Regions from separate parts of the Homo sapiens genome. Here all the other regions are linked to region 1. Evidence: promoter capture Hi-C in 16 types of primary human blood cells and fetal thymus (Javierre and others, 2016). All regions are on one chromosome and are shown on one strand. The core of a region is centred on a gene start or on the middle of the fragment in contact, and the rest is flanking DNA. Distances in the headings are between cores, read along the strand shown. Region 1 holds the start of TMEM140 (transmembrane protein 140). Region 2 overlaps MTPN (myotrophin). Region 3 overlaps AKR1B1 (aldo-keto reductase family 1 member B). Region 4 overlaps LOC124901750 (a long non-coding RNA gene). Region 5 holds the start of STMP1 (short transmembrane mitochondrial protein 1).

What was found. Contacts are between HindIII fragments. The CHiCAGO score rates a contact against its expected background, and 5 or more counts as called.
Region 2: a contact is called between a fragment that was not itself captured here and the fragment with the promoter of TMEM140 in region 1, in 1 of 17 cell types (erythroblasts). The highest score is 5.4, in erythroblasts.
Region 3: a contact is called between a fragment that was not itself captured here and the fragment with the promoter of TMEM140 in region 1, in 2 of 17 cell types (naive CD8 T cells and total CD8 T cells). The highest score is 7.0, in naive CD8 T cells.
Region 4: a contact is called between a fragment that was not itself captured here and the fragment with the promoter of TMEM140 in region 1, in 1 of 17 cell types (total CD8 T cells). The highest score is 6.2, in total CD8 T cells.
Region 5: the fragment with the promoter of STMP1 here is called in contact with the fragment with the promoter of TMEM140 in region 1 in 9 of 17 cell types (non-activated CD4 T cells, total CD8 T cells, naive CD4 T cells and 6 more); the score reaches 7.9 in non-activated CD4 T cells.

Annotation. Positions count from the first base shown.
Region 1 is chr7:135,145,977-135,150,376 of GRCh38, forward strand. TMEM140 (transmembrane protein 140) reads left to right here and starts at 2,096. Exons shown (of 2, transcript NM_018295.5): 1 at 2,096-2,294. It also overlaps a transcript of CYREN not described here. RefSeq lists an enhancer at 1,875-2,374. The HindIII fragment of the contact is 6,449 bases long and covers 1,545-4,400 here.
Region 2 is chr7:135,937,724-135,942,123 of GRCh38, forward strand. The region is part of intron 3 of MTPN (myotrophin); the gene reads right to left. Among named protein-coding and RNA genes, the nearest start is that of MTPN, 37 kb to the right of the region's middle. The HindIII fragment of the contact is 2,216 bases long and covers 1,081-3,296 here.
Region 3 is chr7:134,451,761-134,456,160 of GRCh38, forward strand. All of the region lies in intron 1 of AKR1B1 (aldo-keto reductase family 1 member B), which reads right to left. Among named protein-coding and RNA genes, the nearest start is that of AKR1B1, 5.1 kb to the right of the region's middle. The HindIII fragment of the contact is 1,484 bases long and covers 1,851-3,334 here.
Region 4 is chr7:134,621,286-134,625,685 of GRCh38, forward strand. All of the region lies in intron 1 of LOC124901750 (a long non-coding RNA gene), which reads right to left. Among named protein-coding and RNA genes, the nearest start is that of BPGM, 23 kb to the right of the region's middle. The HindIII fragment of the contact is 644 bases long and covers 1,831-2,474 here.
Region 5 is chr7:135,660,273-135,664,672 of GRCh38, forward strand. STMP1 (short transmembrane mitochondrial protein 1) reads left to right here and starts at 2,242. Exons shown (of 3, transcript NM_001130929.2): 1 at 2,242-2,322. The coding sequence starts at 2,308. It also overlaps the pseudogene RPL15P11. RefSeq lists a silencer at 2,117-2,336 and enhancers at 2,976-3,500, 3,501-4,025. The HindIII fragment of the contact is 1,162 bases long and covers 1,467-2,628 here.

The DNA of each region.
Region 1 (4,400 bases), core at 846-3,345:
ACCTTTGCCTTCACAACATAAGGCCTAACATTTGGCTTATCTTTGCTTTCACAATGCCTTCCTCACTAAGCTTAATCATTTCTAGTTTCCAATTTTAAATGAAAGACATGTGACACTTCCTTTCACTTAAACACTTACAGGCCATTGTAGGGACATTAATTGGCCTAATTTCAGTATTATTGTGTCTCAGGAATAGGGAGACCTAACGTGAGAGAGAAATGGAGGAACGTCCAGTTGGTGGAGTGGTCAGAACACACGGTCAGAACACCAACACAGAGTTGGTGGAGCGGTCAGAACTGAATTATCAATTAAGTTCACCGTCATATGGGTGCGGTTCATGGCACCCCAAAACAATCACAATAGTAACATCAAAGATCACCATAACCAACATAATAATAATGAAAAAGCTTGAAATGTTGCAAAAGTTACCAAAATGTGACACAGAGACATGAAGTGAGCAAAGGCTATTGAAAAAATGGTGCCAATAGACTTGCTCGATGCAAAAATGCCACAAATCCTCAATTTGTAAAAGATGCAGGATCCACAAAGAGAGATGCACAATAAAATAAAGTATACCTGTGCATATTCCAATATTGTAAACACTGAATATTGATTTAAACAAAACTATAACCAATTTGGATAGAGGAGGAAGAGAGGAAGCATACTTCTGGAACATGCAGTGGGGAAGAAGAAAGCTAAATCTTCACCTTTTATGGTTGGGAGTCAGTAGATTATGCCTGAAACTGAAAAATCAAGAAGTACCAATCCAAGCATGTTATTTAGAGAACTGAGGTAAATGCCTAAAGAATGAGCACAGGTGAAAGTGCTTGCCTCTGAAGAGGAAGAAAGGGAGAGTGTGGGACTGCCGATTTTCGTAAGTTTTGAAAAACTGACTCTTTGAAAACTAGGTACATGATAACCTTGAATAAATTTCATAAATATAAATATGTTTCTATCTCTTCTATATCACTTCACTCACCAGTATTGAGTTTTCAGAGTAACTACTGTATATTAGTATCTAAAAGTTAATTTTCTGTCTTAAAGGCATTAATATGGATGCTAGACTAAATATACAGAAATTCCACTTTTCATAATAATAGCTACCATTACTATGGTCCCAGTATTGTACTAAGCACTTATATTATCTCCAGTCCCCAGAGCAACCATGCAAAGTAGGTACTGTTTCCATTTTACAGATAAGAAATTGATGCTCAAAGAGATTAAATAATTTGCTAGTATGTAGCAGAACTCTCTGATCTCAAAGCCTCTGTTCTTCCTTCCTCCTGGATCCCATCACCTCTTTCTAGAGTTTGCGTTTAAAAGAACTAGGGGCAGGGGGAGGGCAATGTAGCAGTTCAAATAACTCCTCCTTTGGAGGAAGGGCAAGGAAGCAGAAGAGAACCGCTGAAGGATTCAGCAATAGCACTAGGTAGCAGTCTCATGTAACCAAGTTTAACCCACAGTTGAAATTTCCAGTTGGTCATGTGAGCAACGGAAGCAATTTTTAAACTCTGGCCAGGAGCCCCAATGCTTACAAAAATAAAAGCTTTGTTCGGCTCTTATTTTGAAATAAAATAGATGTTCCAGCTGCTCCAACATGGGCCTAAACACTGCAGTGAGAATGCTCAGGACACAAAGTTTTGTGTCCAGAGAAGCCCAGTCATCATTACAAAATTGATCTCTAAAAGGGGTTGGGGGACAGACGGCATAGCTGCTTCCCAAGGAAATGAGTAGGAGGTGACCTGGGTCCTGACTGCCACACTGGCTGGGAGCTTGGACCAGATGATCCTGATGGGTTTCTTCTGAATAAAATTCCGGGTTGTGTTTATCTTGCAGTTTAAATCACTGGGAGCTTCGAGAGTTCTTTGGCTCCTTCCCTTTCTGGAATTATTGTGTGATATAATCAAGACATTTACCTGGCTCTTTAAATCAGTTGGTTTGCCGGCTACAGTGTAGGTAAAGAGTATGTCATAATGGACAATAAAAAGTTGTTTACATACCTCATTTCTGAAAAGTCATGGGCCACTGGCAAGTTAGGAAACGAAAGTGAAATCAGCTGATAGTGACATCAGTCAGAACAAATGTACCAAAGTTCAGAGAGCTGTTTACTAGGCACGACTGCGAAGGCAAGGGGGCACCAGCTCAGGACTGCATCTGCCTGCCATTTCCCTTCCACTCCTCCTTTCTGGAGTCTGACATTAGAAAGCCAGCGAGAAGGAAGATTCAAACAACCAACCCTGATTTCCTGCTTCTCCTTTTCATGAGTGTTCCTGTGGTCTCTGCACCTCCTTTCTGTAAGTACCGATCCTGCAAGCATCACAGCTTACCCAGACGTCTACTACCTTGTAAGACAATTTTGTTTTCTTCTCAGATATTTCATGTTCTGGCAATCCACATAGGGGAACTCACTGGTTGTTCAGTATCTGTGACCCTCCCTCGCTCATGTCTGTATAATCTACATAATCTACCCCCTTTACTCTCTGCTCTCCTTCCTTCCACTCTTCGGCATCAACATGTGTAGCTCTGGCCTCAAAGATGATGAAAGTAAGGCCAGTATAACTGGTTAGAAACGATGCAGGGCTGACTGCACACAGCAGAGTCTTGCACGCAGTGTGTACAAGGACATGGCTGTGGCTTGTGCAATACACTGTTCATCAGAAATAGGTAAACAAAAGCAGGTCACCGACCAACACTAACTAAACCACTATTCAATGGTAGTTACGAACACATCATAAAACTTTAAAATACACACTGAAGATTAATATCAACAGAAAAACTTGTGTTCTTGCCTCAAAGAATGGGACCTAAGAGATGTTTAGATCTTATGTTAGTCATTAGACCAGATTGCTCCTCATGCCCCAGTGGAAATCCATGGTGGTATTTTAGTTCTCTTGATGCATATTTTAAGAGATTTTTTTTAATGTGGGCTTAGTTTCACTAATAACTTCCACTATGCTTCTTCGCCTATAAAATCAAAGGCTCCTTTGAAAGAGGGAAAAGACACATATTTCCTTCTTCCCTCATGATAACTGAAGAGCATTTTTCAGTATCCACTTACCATACCCCATTCCCCAAAATCTCAGGTCTGAGACTCAGTCCATGAGATATTTTTTCAATCTTGCACATATTCCCCTTTCTCAACTTTCTTTCCAGCTTAGTCCCTGCTTTATCTAATTACTAAGGCTGTTTTGAATGCCTGTTTTATAAATTTCTTTTTTTTTCATAAATGTAGCACATAATTCTAAAAATATTTTACTGCAAATAGAGAACAATTGCCTGTAATGTCACCACCCAGAGCTACCACAGCTAACATTAACATTTTCAAATACTTCTTTAGTCTCTTTCTCCTATGCCTCTTTATATGGATGTAGTCACACTATGTAGAGTGATTTTATACCTGCTTTTTCTAAAAGATGCATAGTATTTTATCCTTGATACATCATAGTTTACTTCTGATATTGGACTTTCAAGCTGCTTCCCATTTTGTGCCAAAAGTAATGCTGTGCTGAACATTCCTATGTATAAATTATTGACTGGATTTCTGATTGCTGTCTTAGGATAGATTTATAAAAGTGGGCCAAAGAGATATGACTATTTTTAGGGTTTTTAATGTTTATTGCCAATCTGCCTCCCTGAAAGTTTGTACAAATGTTCACATCCACCATCATTGTGTGAGAATGCCAGTTTAACCATATTTTTGGTATCATCAAGTGTTTTTACCTACAGTGTTGATAGGGAAACTCTGGTTTTTTACTTGGCGTATCTTTAATTACATTAGAAAAGTTACAGAATTTTTTTTCATGTTAGTTAACTACTTTGCATTCTTTGTGAATTATCTCTTCATATTTGTCCATTTTTAATGAGGTGTAATGTTTTTTGACAGTTTGCGTAAACATTTTAAACATTAAGTACATTAATCATTTCATAGTTGTGGTAGATATTTTCCATGCTCATTGACTTTTAATTATATTTATGTTGTTTTTGGTGAATAGAAATCTTTATTTTAGAATAGTTAAACCTGTGCAATTCTTTATTTGTAGTTTCCATTTGCTCTTAAGTTCCAAATTTTATTTTTCACTCATAAATCAAATATATCCTTTTTTCCAGATCATTGATTTTTTTATCTGGTTTTACCTTTCACTCTTGGATCCATGTGAAATTTATTTGGGTATGTGGAGTGAGATGAGGACCTAAAATAGTTTTGTTTCTCTTTTCTAGTTAGCTGATCAATTGCTTCAGTATTAGTTAATGAAGAACCCTTTCAGGACTCAAAACAAATATCTCTTCTGAAGAGAGGCTTTCCCTGACCCTATAATCTAGTCATCACTTCCTCCTGCCAGTTTCTCTCTCTCACTCACCCTGTTTATTTCTTTCCCAAACCTTTTCAAAAATTATAATTA
Region 2 (4,400 bases), core at 939-3,438, 790 kb after region 1:
CTCCTGTCCCTCCTTCCACCTCTTCCTCCTCTGAGACAGCAAGACCAACCCCCAATTCCTCCTCCTCAAGCTACTTGAAGCAAAGAAAATGAGGATAAAGGTCTTTATGGTAACCTACTTCCACTTAATGAATAGTAAATGTAGTTTGTCTTTGTAATGATTTTCTTAATAGTCTTTTCTCCAGCTTACTTTACTGTAACAATGAAGTATATAACTCATACAAAAAATATGTGTTGACTGTCTGTTTATGTCATCTATATGCTTCCGGTGAACAGTAAGCTATTAGTTTTTTGGGAGTCAAAAATTCTATGTGGATTTTTGACTGTGCAGGGGTTGGCAACCCTAAACCCCTGCATTGTTCAAGGGTCACCCAGTTGTTATACTGTATTGCTTTTTAATTTATATTATTTGTAATTATTGTGCTATTATTTTTCTGAATCTATTTTTGATCTGTGGTTGAATCCATGGATGCAAAACCTATGGCTATGGAGGGCAAACTGTGTGTTATCTCTACATATGCATATGGATTTACCTATCTACATATACACACAGATAAACACACACACATACCCTTCCCCCTTGGAATATAACCAATTACTTCAGAAAATTTTCTTTAGCAACCATGGTTTTGAATGGTCAATTCACTTTGGAAAGAAAGCAATTTAGAATCAAATACAAAACAAATATCTGAAAGGACTAAGACTGCAGTTGAGGATTAAAGTCAATTCAAGGAATATTTGCAATGTTTCTAGTTTAACATTTTATGACAGACACTTATCAGGTCAGGATTCTAGCAACCTTATGTTGATTTGAACTGACAGGAAGTGAATATAAAACTTTAAAAAACCATTGAAACAGCTTTACAGAGTTCAAGCTCTTCATCATTCCATAGAAGCATGCTGGTGTCCTCACTCAGAAATTTTTATTTCAAACACAGACCTTCTCAGTCAAAATTAAATCAGAAACAGAAAACAGAAAGGAGAGAAGGCCTACTGAAGACGGTCACACTAACAACAGTAACATCTGACAAGAGCTTGACATGACTATAGTAAGAAAGAAACCAAGACTGAGCCCGGCTAAAGCTTAGCTAGTGTAAGGACAATTAACCAAAACTTCAACAGACCCCCGAGGGTTGGATGCTGGTAAGGCTTCAAGGAAATCATCATGTCTTGTTACTCTGCTTAAGAGAAAAGTATATAATACCCTTAAGAAATTTTCTATCCAAAATAGTTATTTTTTACCCTTATAAAGGCTTTTTTTCCCCCCACAGTACTTGTTACTACCTGAAATTAAGTTACATTTATTGGTATACCTGTTTACTCTGCCTTCCCTCTAGAAAATGAGGTGTTACTCTGCCTTCCCTCTAGAAAATGAGGTGTCCAAGAGCGGAGGATCTGTTTACCTTGTTAACTCCTATATCCCCAGTATTTAAATGAATACAGTGTGTACTTCCTTTTGATATTAAATGTCTCATGAAGACTTCGAAAAACGTAAAGCATCAAAGACATTCTTTATTCTTTCCCTGGAACCACCCAATTACCTCTCATTCAATTGTTAGATTCTCTGTGAAGCCTGCTGGGATTTCCCAGGCAGCTGGTGCCCTGGAGATCACAGGTCAGTACTGTAGCTCACTCAGCATCTGACACAACCCACTTCCAACCCGTTCTTCTTTGCTTTCCTCTACTACAGAGGTTGAAAATAAGTGAAATCCTCAGACTCCCTTAAAGCTACAGGTGACTATCTGACCTAATTTTGGCCTTAGCTCTTTCCCCCCTCTTCCTGTTGTCAACAGACACAATGCCTGGCGGTTCAGTAGTTATCTTGTGACCATAAGGATTGGGGAAAATGGGGGCGGGGGGGGGGGGCGGGTGCGTGGGGCGGGTGCCCAGTGTGGGATATCAACAACATACACAGCGGAGCCAGTCACTTAGCCTTGGACTGCACATCTTCAGACTTTCTCGTTTAGATCATTGTAGTAAGGGTTTTTGTTACTCATGGCTAAACTCCACCTTTCTTAGGGAACTTACCACAGTCTGTAATTAACCATTAACAGGTATGTCTTCCCCAAATTAGGCTGAGCTCCATGAAGGAAGGGGTCCTGTTATATTTGTCCCTATAGCTTTAATACCTAGGATAATGCCTTGTAGCCAGCAGATGCTCAATAAATATTAAATGAAAAAAATTCACATCTGGGTCATAGTAACAGAAATATTACCCTTAGTGAACACAAGCATCCAAATTAAAAGGAAAAATTATTTTTTTAAAAATACTATCTTGTCTAAGTATGTACTACTGTATCATTAGAAAGAATACTGTCAATTATTTTGAATCAATTTATATGCATTTTAGAACAGTCTTGAGAAACTACTATACTCACAAAGAACTCCATTATCTCATGATTTGAGGCAACTGTTTGTAGTTCCATGGTACTATGAGAAAATGTTCAGAATCTGAAAACCTTACACTGTTTAAATATATACTTAAATATTACCATAGAACTTAAACATATGATTCAATTTCGGAAACTACTAAAAATGGATTTGGTATTTAGTGACATTAAAAATTATTCAAATACCTACAATTATACATACTTTGCAATTTTATCTACTGGTGCAGGATGATTTCATAGCACATTTAATTTCATATTTAATTTACATATTGATACAGGAGACAGAGTAAAGACAATTTCTGGTCTTTACTAGACCTATAAGGTCTAACATAATACAAAACACAGTGATTGTTACCTCCCTTACATTTTTCGTAGCAGTTTTGAGTTTTTAATGTAACAGTAAAAATATGTAACCACATGTTTCTCACAGCAGTCCCCTGAAGTGGACATTGTTAACTCCATTTTGTAGACAGGCTCTCAAGCTCAGTTAAGAAACTTGCCCAAGGTCAGTCAACAAATACGAAAACTAGAACCATCTGACTCCAAATTTTGTATTCTATACCACATTTAGTTGAAAATTACCCATGGCCTCTCCCCCCAAAATGTTAGGGACAAGACTAGATTTTGGAATTTATTACCTTTAGATATCTGCAGCTTATTTGTATCTTACAGAAAATAAAAGAACTGTGGGATGGCACACATATGACTTGTCATCTGTTGCACACTCTGACACCACAGCATCTTTTCATAGACACTCAATTCACAAGTCCATTCTGTGAATCTTTACTGAGTTTCTATTAAGTGGCAGATACAGCTTTGGTAAATAAAATGTTACTGGAACATACCTAGGCTCATTCATTTACATGTTGCTTATGGCTGCTTTTGCATCACAGTGGCAGAGATGAGAAGCTTTAATGGAGACCATAAGGCACAGAAAGCCCCAAATGTTTACTACCTGGCCCTTAACAGAAAATGTTTACTACCTGGCCCTTAATAGAAAATGTTTGTTGCCCACTGTTCTAGGGCATTAGGGAGAATCAGAGACTAGTTCTCATATATTTCATAAATAGTGTGGCAAGTACTAAAAATAGGAAAGACCATTACCTTCTTTGATTCTCAGAATAATCCTGGGGTATGAATACTATTAAACCCACTGAGTTCAGATGTCAAGTGATTTACTAGCTATGAAGTTACAGAACCAGGCCTTAAATCTAGGTTTACTAACTTCATTGCCAAGCTCCTCTATCTGCACCACTCTGCTTCTCCAACAATGGGGAATGTCATATGAACCAAAGCATTTGTTGAGAACTTTAATTTACCAAGTGGGTTAAGTGTTGATGCTGTTGTCTCATCTCTTTAACTTTTCCAAAAATTCAATTCTTAAAATGTCAATTAAAATCTAAAGAGGCAGGTACTTCAAGTTTTCCAAGCAGCTGCTCAAACTTACTCAAATGACAAAAACTAACAAATGAGACTCACACACATGTGAGCAATGAGACATTTTATGTTTCGTTTTATTCCTTATTTGAACACAGTTAACTATAGTTCATTTTCAGTTGCATATATAATGGTCTTGGATTTGTTCTTATGGTACCCCTAGTAAAAATATGATTTTAATATCACTATAGCAATCATATTTAACATGAATAGAAAGATCATTTCAAGGTTTCAGAGAAAAATTCATCATGGAAATAGGATGGGCTAAAGCACAAACGAGCCTTCAAATTACTCCTCTTCAAGGACAGTCACATATTGAGCTGTTATATTACTTTTTTTTTTTTTTTTTTGAGACGGGAGTTTCATTTTTGTTGCCCAGGCTGGAGTGCAATGGCATGATCTCAGCTCACTACAAACTCCACCTCCCGGGTTCAAGCTATTCTCCTGCCTCAGCCTCCTGAGTAGCTGAGATAACAGGCACCTGCCACCACGCCCGGCTAATTTTTTTTTTGCATTTTTAGTAGAGATGGGGTTTAACCATGTTGGCCAGGCTGGTCTCGAACTCCTGACCTCA
Region 3 (4,400 bases), core at 1,343-3,842, 690 kb before region 1:
GAGAAAGAACGTGAGCCCCGCAGAATGCAGAGTCTGCACAGCAAGGAGGAGGGGCAGTGGCAGCCACCGATACCTGCTGACCAGCCTGCCACTTTGTTCAGCAAAGACAGACCACGTGCACTTCCTCAGCAGCATTCTGGACTATCAGCCTCAGACGCGGGGGATGGAAGTGAAAGGCCACACAGCATTGCCCTGTAGGAGAATCTGACAGCCACTTAAGTGTAGGTGAGATCACTTTTAAAAGATATGCTGAAGCCATCTCATTTTCTTGCTTCTTCACATCCACTGATTTGCAAACCACTGTATTAAAAACATTTCCCCACACTCTGAATGCTGAGATAGTAAGGGAAACCATTTCCTTCAAATATCTCAAAATATTTCAAAAATAGATGTCCTATGGACCCCAATTCCCATGTGGCTCCCCAGTTCAGCCAGTGAATGCCTGCCCCTTACGCTCTCTTTTCATGCATGGCTTCTGATACCGGCAGTCGCTTGTTTTCAAGCGGTTCTGGGAGATTATCATGAAGTTAAGCACATCACTGATGTTTATTCAAAGGCCCATGTGTCAATTCTCACTGTATGAGGATCTGCTTCAAGGGGTGGAGACACGGGAGATGGCCCCTCAGAGGTATCAGCAGAGAGAAATAAGTTAAAGGGAAACGAGGGGGAATGTGGATCATGGAAGATCACCAAATGGTTAGTGGCTGACCTGGCAAAATGACTGAATGGGTGTCCATGGCCAAGCCACCTGACCATCTGAGTAACCAGAACAGCTGTGGGGAGCCTGGCTACTGAAGAGGAGGAGGAAGTGCCTACATGGCATCGCGCTTCACTGGCACCCAGGTAGGCTGCATGGACACGTATCCCCCAACTTTCACTATCCTGCTATGATCACAGAGCTGAGCAATAAACATGTGCAGCGGGCTGTTGAATGAACAGAGCACATTCCTTTGGAGAGCTGGGGTAGAAACAAATGAAAAGAAAAACCCCCCAGGGCCATAGCAGCTGCAGACATCTGTGTTTTGACATCAGCTATTTTCAACAGGCTTTGGGGAAGAAAGGGGCCCAGTTGAACAAGCCCGTTACCAGAGCCTGTTAGCATGGAGCTCACTCTCCACCTCAGAGGGAGCAGCGAGGCAGGGTGGGGATGCTCATCGAAGGTGTGGGTTAAGAGGGGACGACCCTCAGAGGACCTGGCGACCTCTTATTTGACTGGAGGACCTCAGAAGCTGCTCTTGCAGCCTTCCCCACTCTGCACGGTTGAAGGAACAGAGAATCTCAATTTCCAGAAAGAATGCCTTACCACAGGCCCTGAGTGGTGTCCGGGCACAACCACCACTGATGACAGCAGGGAGAGCAGAGGACATCCCTACCCCAGAAAGAACAACTGGGGCCCAGGCAGGAAACTGCCCAGGACACACTGAACTTTCTCCAGGCTTGATGGCGCCTTGATTGATTTTTCTCTGAGGAGCTGCTGAGGGCACACTCCGCAGGCTCAGCCTAGCCACGCACTGCCTGCCATGCAACTGGTGCGGGGACAGGAACATGACTCAATCCAGGCCATAAGACTCAATCTTTGCACTTGAATTGGAACCCCTGAGTCCAGCCCCGGTTCTGCTGGGGTCACTGAGCTGGGAGAATGTCAGCCTGGAGCTGCTGCAGGAAAGTGGAGGGAGGCCAAATCCTGGTGACAACATTTACAACCCTGAATCTCAAACACCTAATGTCAGCGGCTGTTGTTTGGGGAAGTCAATCAATCCCCACCCCAAACACACTTTTTTTTTTCCTGCTTAAGATTAAAGTGGTTTTTCAGTTCTTTGGAACCAAAAGAGCACAGACTAGGATAATCAAGCTTGCGTTGGCACGACATGAAAAAAAAGTTGTGAGAGGTTTTTCTAGAAAAGTAAAAGACAGCAATGACTGCAAGAGGTCACGAAGAAGCTGCTGATCATTCCTTGGATATGTGCCATTCGCTGGAGACATGTGTGCTGGGAGGCTGATCAAAGGTGCTGGAGGGAAAAAGTCACCTCTGCAATGAAAATGTACGAGGATCCACAACCACATTCTATGTTAATGATCTCAATGTACAGCCCTTCCCTGAGAGAAACTAATTTGCCTTATGAAAAATGAAGCAGCCAACTTAAGCTATGGTGAGAAACCATTCACTAAACTTGGGAATGCCAACACAGGATGACAACATCTCCCCATTCCATGTCAACAAAGAGAAAATGCAAACAGAAGGAGGGGTCCAGATTGACTTCTAAAAAGAAGGTAAACTATGAAAACATGCTGGGTGGCATCCAGGCACAGCCATTACTGATGAGAGCTGTAGAAATGCAGTATATGAAACACTCCAATTACAGCTCAATCATACAAATCCTACATGTTTCTAACCCGATCCTGCCACTAATCTGTGTGCCCTTGATGGGCAAAACCATGCATGCCCATTCCTCCCAGAACTTCTGGCTCTGCAAAGCTCTACGTTGGGCAGTGACTTGAAATGCTCTGGGCTGATGGCACCAAGTGATGGCAGTGAGAAGCCTCTGCCCTTGAGTCCTCCACCACCTCCTTCAAGACAGCGGTCCTAGTTCCTCCTTTGATAACACCGGCTGGCTAATACCAACTCTGAGACACTGATAACTAAAATCAGTGTCTCCCTCCTACACAGATACAACACTCCTTTTAAAACCTAGTCTTCTTCCCTTTTGCTTACAGGTCTTGCTAGTTACTTCAAGATACCCCTCCCTCTCTTCCCTCTGCAAGTCAAAAAGCAAGCCACAGTGCTAAACAGGAAGACGGTCACAGGACAGTGTTTATGGTAAAACCAAAGTATCTCAGAGATTGGATATTTTGCAATATTAACCACGGGGATCTCTGGGAACAGGGAACTCTTCATTTTTGAAATGTTCTCTAGTTAGCAGGTGTTACTACTGAAATCAAAGGATAAGGGGAGGGGGCAAAGGAAACTTCACTTTGGGTAAAGAAACGGTCCTGAGTAGGAAGCATGAGAATGCTGTGCTGATAATCCTGGAGCAAGGAACAGGAAACGATCACTCAGAATCAGGTTTGGCAGCAGAAATTAACTTCCTCCTGTTCTGTTTTAATCAATTTGTCCCAAATTCTAAGACACTGCTGTTTCCAACTAGTTGAGATGTGCATGGACCAGGACTGACCCTGTAGGGGCAGGGCTTATTTAAATGTCTTTGGTCTTGAAGAGGAAGAGATGGGGGCTTTAGAGACACCAGGGAAGTGAACAGTAAATCTGGCTCCTGTGTTACCTCCATGCCCACAGCGCCTCAACCCTCACCCCATCCAAGGATCTTGGGCCATCACAAGCTTACCCCACTTGGGGAAGGTGGAGCAAGTCTTTCCTGGCACATTTTCTTTTACCTCATGCATTCTTAAAGTGGGTGCTATTGTCCCCAAAGAGACAAAAATTAGTTCTCTGGGGCAAAAAAACCCCCCTCAGCTTATAGAACAGCTTGTGACCCTCTAGAAGGCTACTGGCCATAAGCAGAAGTACAATATTATCTCTGATATTACAATTTTATTTTGGGGCAAATTAGGGGAAAAAAAAGTCTCACAAGGCTCCTAGGTGGGAGGGAGGTAGTGATCATGGCAAAAGATGGAGAAACATAGTTGTACCTTCAGCCCTAGGAGTATTCTGTGAGCATACATAGGAGACTTACAATGACTTTTACCTCCAACAATTTTTCAACTAGATTAAAAACACTATCAGTAACAAGACACTGGTGGGCACCAGACATCATCTCTGTTTTAAAAGCTTCCTGGCTTTACAATGCTGTGATGGGTTTTTGTTGTTGTTGTTGTTTCTGAGACCGAGTTTTTTTTTGCTCTTGTCGCCTAGGCTGGAGTGCAGTGGCACAATCTCAGATCATGGCAACCTCTACCTTCTGGATTCAAGTGATTCTCCTGCCTCAGCCTCCCAAGCAGCTGGGATTACAGGCACCCACCACCATGCCGGGCTAATTTTTGTATTTTTAGTAGAGAGGGGGTTTCACCATGTTGGCCAGCTGGTCTCGAACTCCTGACCTCAGGTGATCCACCCGCCTTGGCCTTCCAAAGTGCTGGGATTACAGGTGTAATTGTTTACTATCCAATGTAGAAGGCAAGACTGCCAGAAAGAAACCCTGTCCAAGCCACATGGGTCTGGGGCAGAGATGGTCTCCCCATCTGCCTGAAACCCTCACCTGAGAAGAGAATGGAGTTTGAGGACCTTCAAGAGTAGAGACTACCAGAGCCCTGCTGAGGGTCTGAAAGGTACAACACAGCCGCTACGGCATGGGAAGACCCAGGAGAATAAGGAACTGCACCTGCCTGCAGGGCCTCCTCCAGCTGTCACAAAGACAGGCAAAGGATCACATCTTCTGTCGAGCATC
Region 4 (4,400 bases), core at 903-3,402, 520 kb before region 1:
AAAACCCCAAAATGCCTCTATTTCTAGGGCAATACTATCTCTACATTTTAAAAAAGTTTCTGGATGCCAAGATATTTAGCTTGATTTTATTTATTTATTTTTTATTTCAACAGGTTTTTGGAAAACAGGTGGTATTTGATTACATGGATAAGTTATTTAGTGATGATTTCTGAGATTTTTGTACACCCATCACCTGAGTAGTGTACACTGTAAAGTCACTCTTGTTCACTTACGAAGAATGAGAAGAAAAACTCTGAAACAAAAATTCTCCTGCCTTTAATTGAACAAACTGTAGCCCACTCTAGAATGACTTTTCTGTAGCTGGCCCACTGTGGTAGAGTACTTTCAAAAATATTCACTCCTTCCCCCTTTTACCTCCACAAGGGAAATATCCTTCCCCAAATCCTTGACTTTGGGTTTGGCTGCATGGCTTGCCTTGGCAGATGTGACAGAAATAGGGGGTTGAAATGTGCTTGAGTGGTTGGGCCTGGCCTCTTGCACCCCTATCATTGCAACGAGAAGAGTGTGTCTTGACTAGTCATTGCAACGAGAAGAGTGTGTCTTGACTAGTCACTGGTCCAAGGCACATGAAGAAGATGAAGCAGAGCCACCCAGCTGACCTGCAGCTCTGTGAGATTAAATGATTGCTATTTTAAGATACCGAGTTTTGGGGTGGTTTGTGACACAGAATTTTTGTGGCAATAGCTGATACACATCCCAATAGCTCCACAAACGGTCATTATCTTCCCAAGTTCTGTTTCTGTCCCCAGAAAATATCATTCTTGACCGAAAAAATGCAAATATAATATTTTCCTATGGGCTTCTAACTCAAACGGCATAGGGTGTTTCAGAAAAATGTTCCTATTTAATTAGTTCAGTTTGTTTTTATTCCTGACATCATGCTTCCCTCTAAGTACTGTGAGTGCACAGAGGGAAATGTGAGTCTGTGTGCTCAGGTACTTTTTAAATTTCAGGCTTAGGGGAGTCTATGATCCCTAAGTCTGACACTGTCTCATGAACTGTGAAGAACTTGAAGACAGGAGGCTCTATCAGCCTCTCAGCAAGAGAGACAGCACACTCAGCTTTGTTGTGTAGAGGCTTTTTCATAAAGGAAATATTTAGAGGTGTGGTTCGGGTTAGAGGAACTAGCAAGGGATGTTGAGGTGCCCAGACACTAGGAATAGCAGGGAGTTCTGATGATCCCCAGGCCTGAACAGTAGGGGGAGAAAACGCAATTTTTGGAGACTGGCTAAGAGTTAGAGTCAAGATGGGCTGCCCAACGGTAGCTATAGTTTGAGTGATGAGGCCATTGATAGAACCACGGTGAAGCAGATGGTGAGTGGGAATAAATGGTGAGGAGAGATATATTGAAAATAAATATTCCAACATCTTCTCCTCCCACTGACCAGAGGGCAAGGGAACCTCGGTAACACAGTACCTAGAGGTCAGGTTCCCAGGACAAAGAACATAACAGAACACAGAATAAATCTGCAACGAATCAAAGAACAACCACAACAGATGTTTATGAATACTTGCCCCAGTTTTCTCAGGAAAGAAGGCATGGGGAAAGGGAGGGCAAGAAATGAGTTGCGTTTACAAGGAAATTGGTTACAGAGAGTTTACAAAGTCTTCAATTTTGAATTGAGTAGCAAAAAGATGGAAAATTAGATGACCTGTGACTGGGCCAGTAGATGTCTTTGCATTGCATATATCAACCTCAAGCACTTCTCTAAAAGTATCATGAGACAAAACTGTAGCACTAGACGGCATCAGTGAAATTAACCTTAAAGTACCTGGAAGATAAGTATTTTGAGGAGGGCTATCAGATCAAGCTTCTGGTCTTAATCTCTGGGTTTGACATTGGGATTTTAGAAGAAATATTTAAATGGATAGCGAAGTAAAAGGTATATGGATGCCAGGAGATTCCTGAGCTATAGAACTCTGACACTATTTCAATTTTTTGATAATCTTCTGATTCTTCACCTATGAAAATATTATATGAAACTACTTACCAAATTTATCAACCCATGACACATCCACAAACCCAAACTTGCCAGAATACTTTCATTGTCGTGTTAATGTGTTTGAAGGAGAGTGTGGAGGGCGGGGAACACAGGAGACTCCTTGGTCTACATGTCCATACATGCATATCCACATACCAGCATCAGCCATCTCTCTTTCTCCAGCAAAATTACTCTTGCTTTCCATTTCTGTTGTCCAAAATGGGCAAAGGTGAGTGAGTAAAACCAAAACACCAATACACTGAGGATGTCTTTTATTATACACAGAAGTATCCTACTATGCTAGAAAACAATATTATACTAATTTTCTTAGAGAAACAAAGTAGCTGACTATTCATCTGATTCAAATATATGTGAGACACACTTTTTTATCCTTCAGATACAATTTTCACATCGTACTTTCTCTTTAGATTTTATAGTTGGCCCAGTTTCCCCTTGAATGCGAGCCTTATAAGCTTTTTGTACCTCTTAACATCAAACTCAATGAATAACTAAGACTTGGGCTATTTGTATTGCCCAAATGGGAAATGGGGGAGGGTGAAGGAAGAGAATCCTCCCCTCTCCATTCGAAGGTTCCAGGGGGCTACAAAGAGATAATGGTTGATGTTGATTCTAGAAAACTGGTTCTCATGAAGTTTTCAAGCTGATTTCCTTATGTATTAACTTCACTAAAAGAAGGATTCCTTTTGATAAGTGAGGACAAAAAGGCATCATTGAATACCAATTACAAAAAGAAAAAAAATCTACAAGTACAATATTTTGCTTCAAATAAAATATATTTATGTGGTTGCTATGTTTTTGTTGATAGTCAATATATGTAAATATTTAGCTAAATTATGAAAATTCAAGAAAGATCACAGCTATTGGAAGTAGCAGGCTAGCTAAAAGCCTCTGCAGCATTGCTTGAACAGAAACAGACCAAAGGCAGATTATGTCTGAAGATGTGTTGATTATATCTCCTTAAAGAAATAATAAGTTCTTTAAAAGGGCAATATAAGCAACATTCATGTACTTATGAGAAATGTGTAACTAAATACTTCATTGCTTAACTAAACATTTATTGGATGCCTATCGGTGATTAGAATGAATGATTGGGGGTTCCAGTTAATTAACTACCTGAATTTGTCTTCCTATATATAATTTTCCAGGAAGAAAATAATATAACAAAAAGGAAATGGTTACAAAGTAACAAACATTTTATTTCCCAGTCTAATCTTTTTCAACCTATATTTATACCCAGAGGACTGCGTGGTATGTTCAGCATCATGTATCTTGGCTTCTGTCAAGATGAATATTTTGTATTGATCAACGCTTTACACTTTACAAAGCCCTTTCAAATACTTATTTCCTTTGACTTCTAAGTCTTACTGCACCATTGTGTAGATGGAAAAATTGAGTCTGAAGTGGTGATTTCCCCAATGTTATTCTACTTCATGCCCACTAGAATAGCTAAAATCTAAGACTGACAGTATCAAGTATTGGTAAGGATGCAGAACAATTAAAACTCACATATATTGCTGATGGAAGTATAAAATGATATAACCACTTTGACAAAAAGTTTGGCAGTTTCTTATAAAGTTAAACACATCTTCTGATTCAGCAATTGCAGTTGTAGGTAAGTATCCAAGGTAAGTGAAAATACATGTTCACAAAAAGACTTGTAGAAGAATGTTCATAGCAGCTCTATTCACTGTAGTCAAAAATTGAAAACGACCCAAATGTCCATCAACAACAGGATGGGTAAACAAGTTGTAGTATATTAGCACTTAGCATTAAAAAGAATGAATTACTGTACTGATACATCCAATAACATGAATAAAACATAATGCTGAGGAAAGAAGCTGCATACAACAGAGTATATATTGTATGTTTCCACTTATATGAAGTTCTAGAACAGGTAAAGCTAATCTAAGGTGAAAAAATTCAGTAGTGCCTTTGAGGGTTTGGGGCATTGCTCCCAAGGGAGGACTTTTTTTCTTACGAGATGGAAATATGGTGAGGGTATAGACACACAGCTCAAATTGTTCAATTAATACTTGTGCATCTCAATGTATGTATATTTTACCTTAAAAACTGTAAAAACAATAACAATCAGATGGAGGAGTTTGGAGTGGAGGTTTAGATAAAAGAAGCGAGGCAGAACATTGATACTACAAGTTGAGTGATGAGTGATGTCCTTTATATTCTTCTGTTTATGTATGCTTGAAATTTTCCACAAAAAAAAGTTTTAAAAAAGACAATAAGGAAAAATGATCAAAAGGCTTTCAGGGAACTGGAAATAGTTCAGTATGGCTGGAGCAGAGAGTGTGTTTTCCACTCTTTCATTTCATAGGAATCTTCCCAGACAGTGGTGAACTGAAAACACCGAATCTCTTAGTC
Region 5 (4,400 bases), core at 992-3,491, 510 kb after region 1:
GCAACTTATGGCAAGCCTGTCCATCATGGTGTTAACCAGCTGAAGTTTGCTCGAAGCCTTCAGTCCATTGCAGAGGAGCGAGTTGGACACAACTGTGGGGCTCTAAGAGTCCTGAATTCTTACTGGGTTGGTGAAGATTCCACATACAGATTTTTTGAGGTTATCCTCATTGATCCATTCTATGAAGTTATCAGAAGAAATCCTGACACCCAGTCGATCACCAAACCAGTCCACAAGCAGAGGGAGATGTGTGGGCTGACATCTGCAGGCCAAAGGAGCTGTGGCCTTGGAAAGTGCCATAAGTTCCACCACACTATTGATGGTTCTTGCTGGGCAGCTTGGAGAAGGCGTGATACTCTCCAGCTCCACCGTTACCACTAATATAAGTAAAGTTTGGGCCAGGCGTGGTGGCTCACGCCTGTAATCCCAGCACTTTGGGAGGCCGAGGCGGGCGGATCACAAGGTCAGGAGATCGAGACCATCCTGGCTAACACGTTGAAACCTCGTCTCTACTAAAAATACAGAAAATTAGCCGGGCGTGGTGGCGGGCGCCTGTAGTCCCAGCTACTCGGGAGGCTGAGGCAGGAGAATGGCGTGAACCCGGGAGGCGGAGCTTGCAGTGAGCCGAGACTGCGCCACTGCACTCCAGCCTGGGTGACAGAGCGAGACTCCGTCTCAAAAAAAAAAAAAAGTTTGTAAAATTCGTACCTAATAATTTAGGACAGTCATGTCTGCTTACAGGTGTTATTTGTCTGTTAAAACTAGTCTGCAGATTGTTTCATGAATGCTTTGTCAAATTATGAAAATTAAAGTGCAATAATTTTTGAAGACAATAAGGGATGGTGTATCTTGTTTCTAATAAGATGAACTTTTTTTGTCTTTGCTTTATCTTATTAGGGAGTTATATATCTTATTAGGGAGTTAGTGTTTAAAACATACTGTGTGGTATAATAGGCTTAAAATAAATTCTTTAAAAGAGAAAGAGAGAAAAAAACACACACATACACAGACCGGAAGACTGACAGAACAGACTCTTTGTGGCGATGATACAAATTGTCAACAGGACCTATGGCCATCCCAGGCAAGAAACCCAGCTAGGCCAGTGAAACTGAGAGCCAACCTGATGAGGCCTGCCAAATGCAACTTCTCTCACTTGTTTTTAGTCACCTGCTTTTAGTGGATTAAAAAACCCACATAGCTAAAGTCACAGAGCTAAACAATATATATCTAAGCTCCCACTATCTTCCTTATGGATAACATCTCTGACATCTGGGTTGCTTGATAAAGGTTTCTTGTTTTTCAGGAAGTTGGGGTCAGTTCTTGTACAGTTTAAACCACCAACCTCTCAACTGGGCCTGCATGAAAGCCCGATGGGTGTCCTTCTGACATTAGAGGGCCAAAACCTCCACACTCAGATCATGCTAAGGATGTCATTTTGTGACCATGTATCCTATAAAGAGCCATGAAGCTTGACTACCTCGCGCAGATAACCCATTGCCAAACTTTTCCTTACCTTCAACCGCCTTTCCCCACACCTCAGACCACCCTGCTCCTCTATCCCATAAATATCCCTAAAACCCATCTTTGGGGAGGCAGATTTGAGATCTGTTCTCCCGTCTCCTCGGCTGGCTGCCTGGTGAATAAACCTTTTCTCTGCTACAAAACTCATCATCTCAGTGACTGGCGTGCGGCACACGGCAGCATGGGCCCCATACGGTACCCAGCCTCTACCTTGATTACACAACACCTGATTACACAACGCTGATTACACAGCACACCTGCGGAGCTTTGAGAGCTACAAGCCTCCTTTCCTCCCCGCAAAGTCCAGCTGGGCCCAAGTAGAGGATGCTGCAAAAGCCCCCACGATTCAGCTGCGAACCTAGGGATGGGACCCGCTGCTCATGCCGTCCTTCTAGGTTAGAGAGCCCTAAACTGGGCTGTGTATCAGAATAGTCCGCGTGCTGAGAATAATATAGATTCCTGGGCCTCGGCCCAGGTTTACAGAGGCGGGATGCTCAAGGATGCCCAGCCAGGCTCGGGACTTGCTCTTCGCAAGTCCTGTCGCGCGCTCGCTGCCCCGCCGGTTCAGGCGGTGAGGCCAACGCGCTCCGCCAGGGGGAACCTGGGCGCTGCGACACTGCAAGTCGTTTCCGGGCGCGGGCTGAGTGGGAGGAGCGGGGCGGGGCGTGGCGTGACCCGGAAGTCGACGAGGGGTTCCGCCCCCCCCGCGCATGGGGAGGTAGGCTCGGACCGGCCCGCGGAGCTGCTGCAGTCCTTCGCGCCCTCCTCGCCCTCCCCACCGACATCATGCTCCAGTTCCTGGTGAGTGGAGCTGCCGAAGAGCGGGGCCCGCTGCCTGGGGCGTGCCTCGGACCCCATTTCCCCCTTGAGGATTGCCGACCCCGCCGACCCGGCCTGGGCGTGGGTCCAGCGGTCCCTTCGTCCCCCGCGCCTGGTCGTCGCCTCGCAGGGCGGCCGTTTTCTTCCTGCCTCCCCAGAAAATCCCTTTGCCAATATTTTTCTGCAGCCATCCAAGTCCCTAAAACTTTGAGGTGTCAGAGAGTGTGCGTTTCCAGAGCTTCTTATTGTGTGCCGCGCCCCGCGCTCATTGTGCAATCTTTGTATTAAAGCTTGTGTGGTCCTTGATGACTTTTCGTAGTCCGCCCCCCTTTCTTTCTGCGCTCCTGTTCCATTACATGGTCGCCGGCCGGTCCCTGCTGTGGAGCCCTGCTAGTTGGCTTTTCTGAGGAGGTAGGAAGGCCAGGAATAAACCGTAAATTAGCCACCTCACGAAGTCCGAGAGGCTAAGTCCTCATCAGACCTTTCAGAGTTGGAGGAATGAGTCAGACACTGGTATACAAGTAATTTTTCCCAAAATGTGTAAGCATGAGTAAGCAGACTATTTCTCTTGGCTCCTTATTTGAGTTAAAAACGAGTTTTCTGGCAAAACTCGGTATATTTCAAAAATTGCTTGGTGAAGGTTCCAGGAGTTGCTCATCAAATTTTCAAGTGAAAGTTTTTCTGCCAAGCTATTGTGCATTCAAAACTTGATGCTTTCAACCTCTATTTTTTTTTATTTTTTATTTTTTTTGAGACGGAGTCTCGCTGTGTCGTCAGGCTGGAGTGCAGTGGCGCAATCTGGGCTCACTGGAACCTCCGCCTCCCGGGTTCAACCGATTCTCCCTCCTCGGCCTCCGGAGTAGCTGGGATTACAGGCGCGCACCAGGATGCTCAGCTAATTTTTGTATTTTTAGTAGAGACGGGTTTCACCAAGTTGGCCAGGCTGGTCTCGAACTCCTGACCTCAAGTGATCAACCCACCTCAGCCTACGAAAGTGCTGGGATTACAGGCGTGAGCCACTGCTCCCGGCTCAAATGCTGTATCTTTTTTTGTTGTTTGTTTTAACGGAGTCCCGCTCTGTCGCCAGGCTGGAGTGCAGTAGTGCGATCTCGGCTCACTGCAGCCTCCGCTTCCTGGGTTTAAGCGATTCTCCTGCCTCAGCCTCCCGAGTAGCTGGTGCGCGCCAGCAGGCCCAGTTAATTTTTGTATTTTTAGTAGAGACGGGGTTTCACCCCGTTGGCCGGGATGGTCTCGATCTCCTGACCTCGGGATCTGCCTGCCTCAGCCTCCCAAAGTGCTGGGATTACAGGCGTGAGCCTCCGCGCCCGGCCCCAAATGCTGTATCTTTATCAAAGAGATTAAAACACAAAATGCACCCCTTTTGTCCTTTTGAAAGATGGTAATGGATTGTTAAATCCAATTAGTCAAAAGAGTGTCCTTAATCTGCCCAGCTAAGACAGGGCTGCTCCTTTGCCTCTAGGAGTTTCTGTAGTGTCCTAACTAGATGTTAGTTTAGGAGTTCAGAATAATGACAGTCATTTTCTTGTAGTAAACACTAGATTAAAAGCGGTATCACTTAGCTCCAGAGTATAGAATGATGTAATTGAGCTGCTTACTATATCTGTTGCTCATTGATAAACTGAGAGGACATGATTCAATTACAGTTAACTTTCTAAGTGGTTTTGCAGAATGAGTCTATTTGGTTTTGCAATAAACTTTTACTGTGTGTTAATTTTTTTTTTTTTTTTTTTTTTTTGAGACAAGGTTTCTCTTTGTCACCTAGGCTAGAGTCCAGTGGCACAATCATGGCTCAGTGCAGTCTTTAATTCCTGGCCTCAAGCAGCCTTCCCACCTCAGCCTCTTTAGTAGTAGCTAGGACTACAGGCCCGCACTACCACCCGTGACTAATTTTAAAATTTTTTTTTTGTAGAGACAGGTCTTGCCTAGGCCTCCCACAGTGTTGGGATTACAGGCATGAGCCACCACTGTGCCTGGTCAGATTCTGATTTGAGAATTCAGAATTCTCAGTATTTAAGGAGAGATGCTAAAGCTGTCAATTA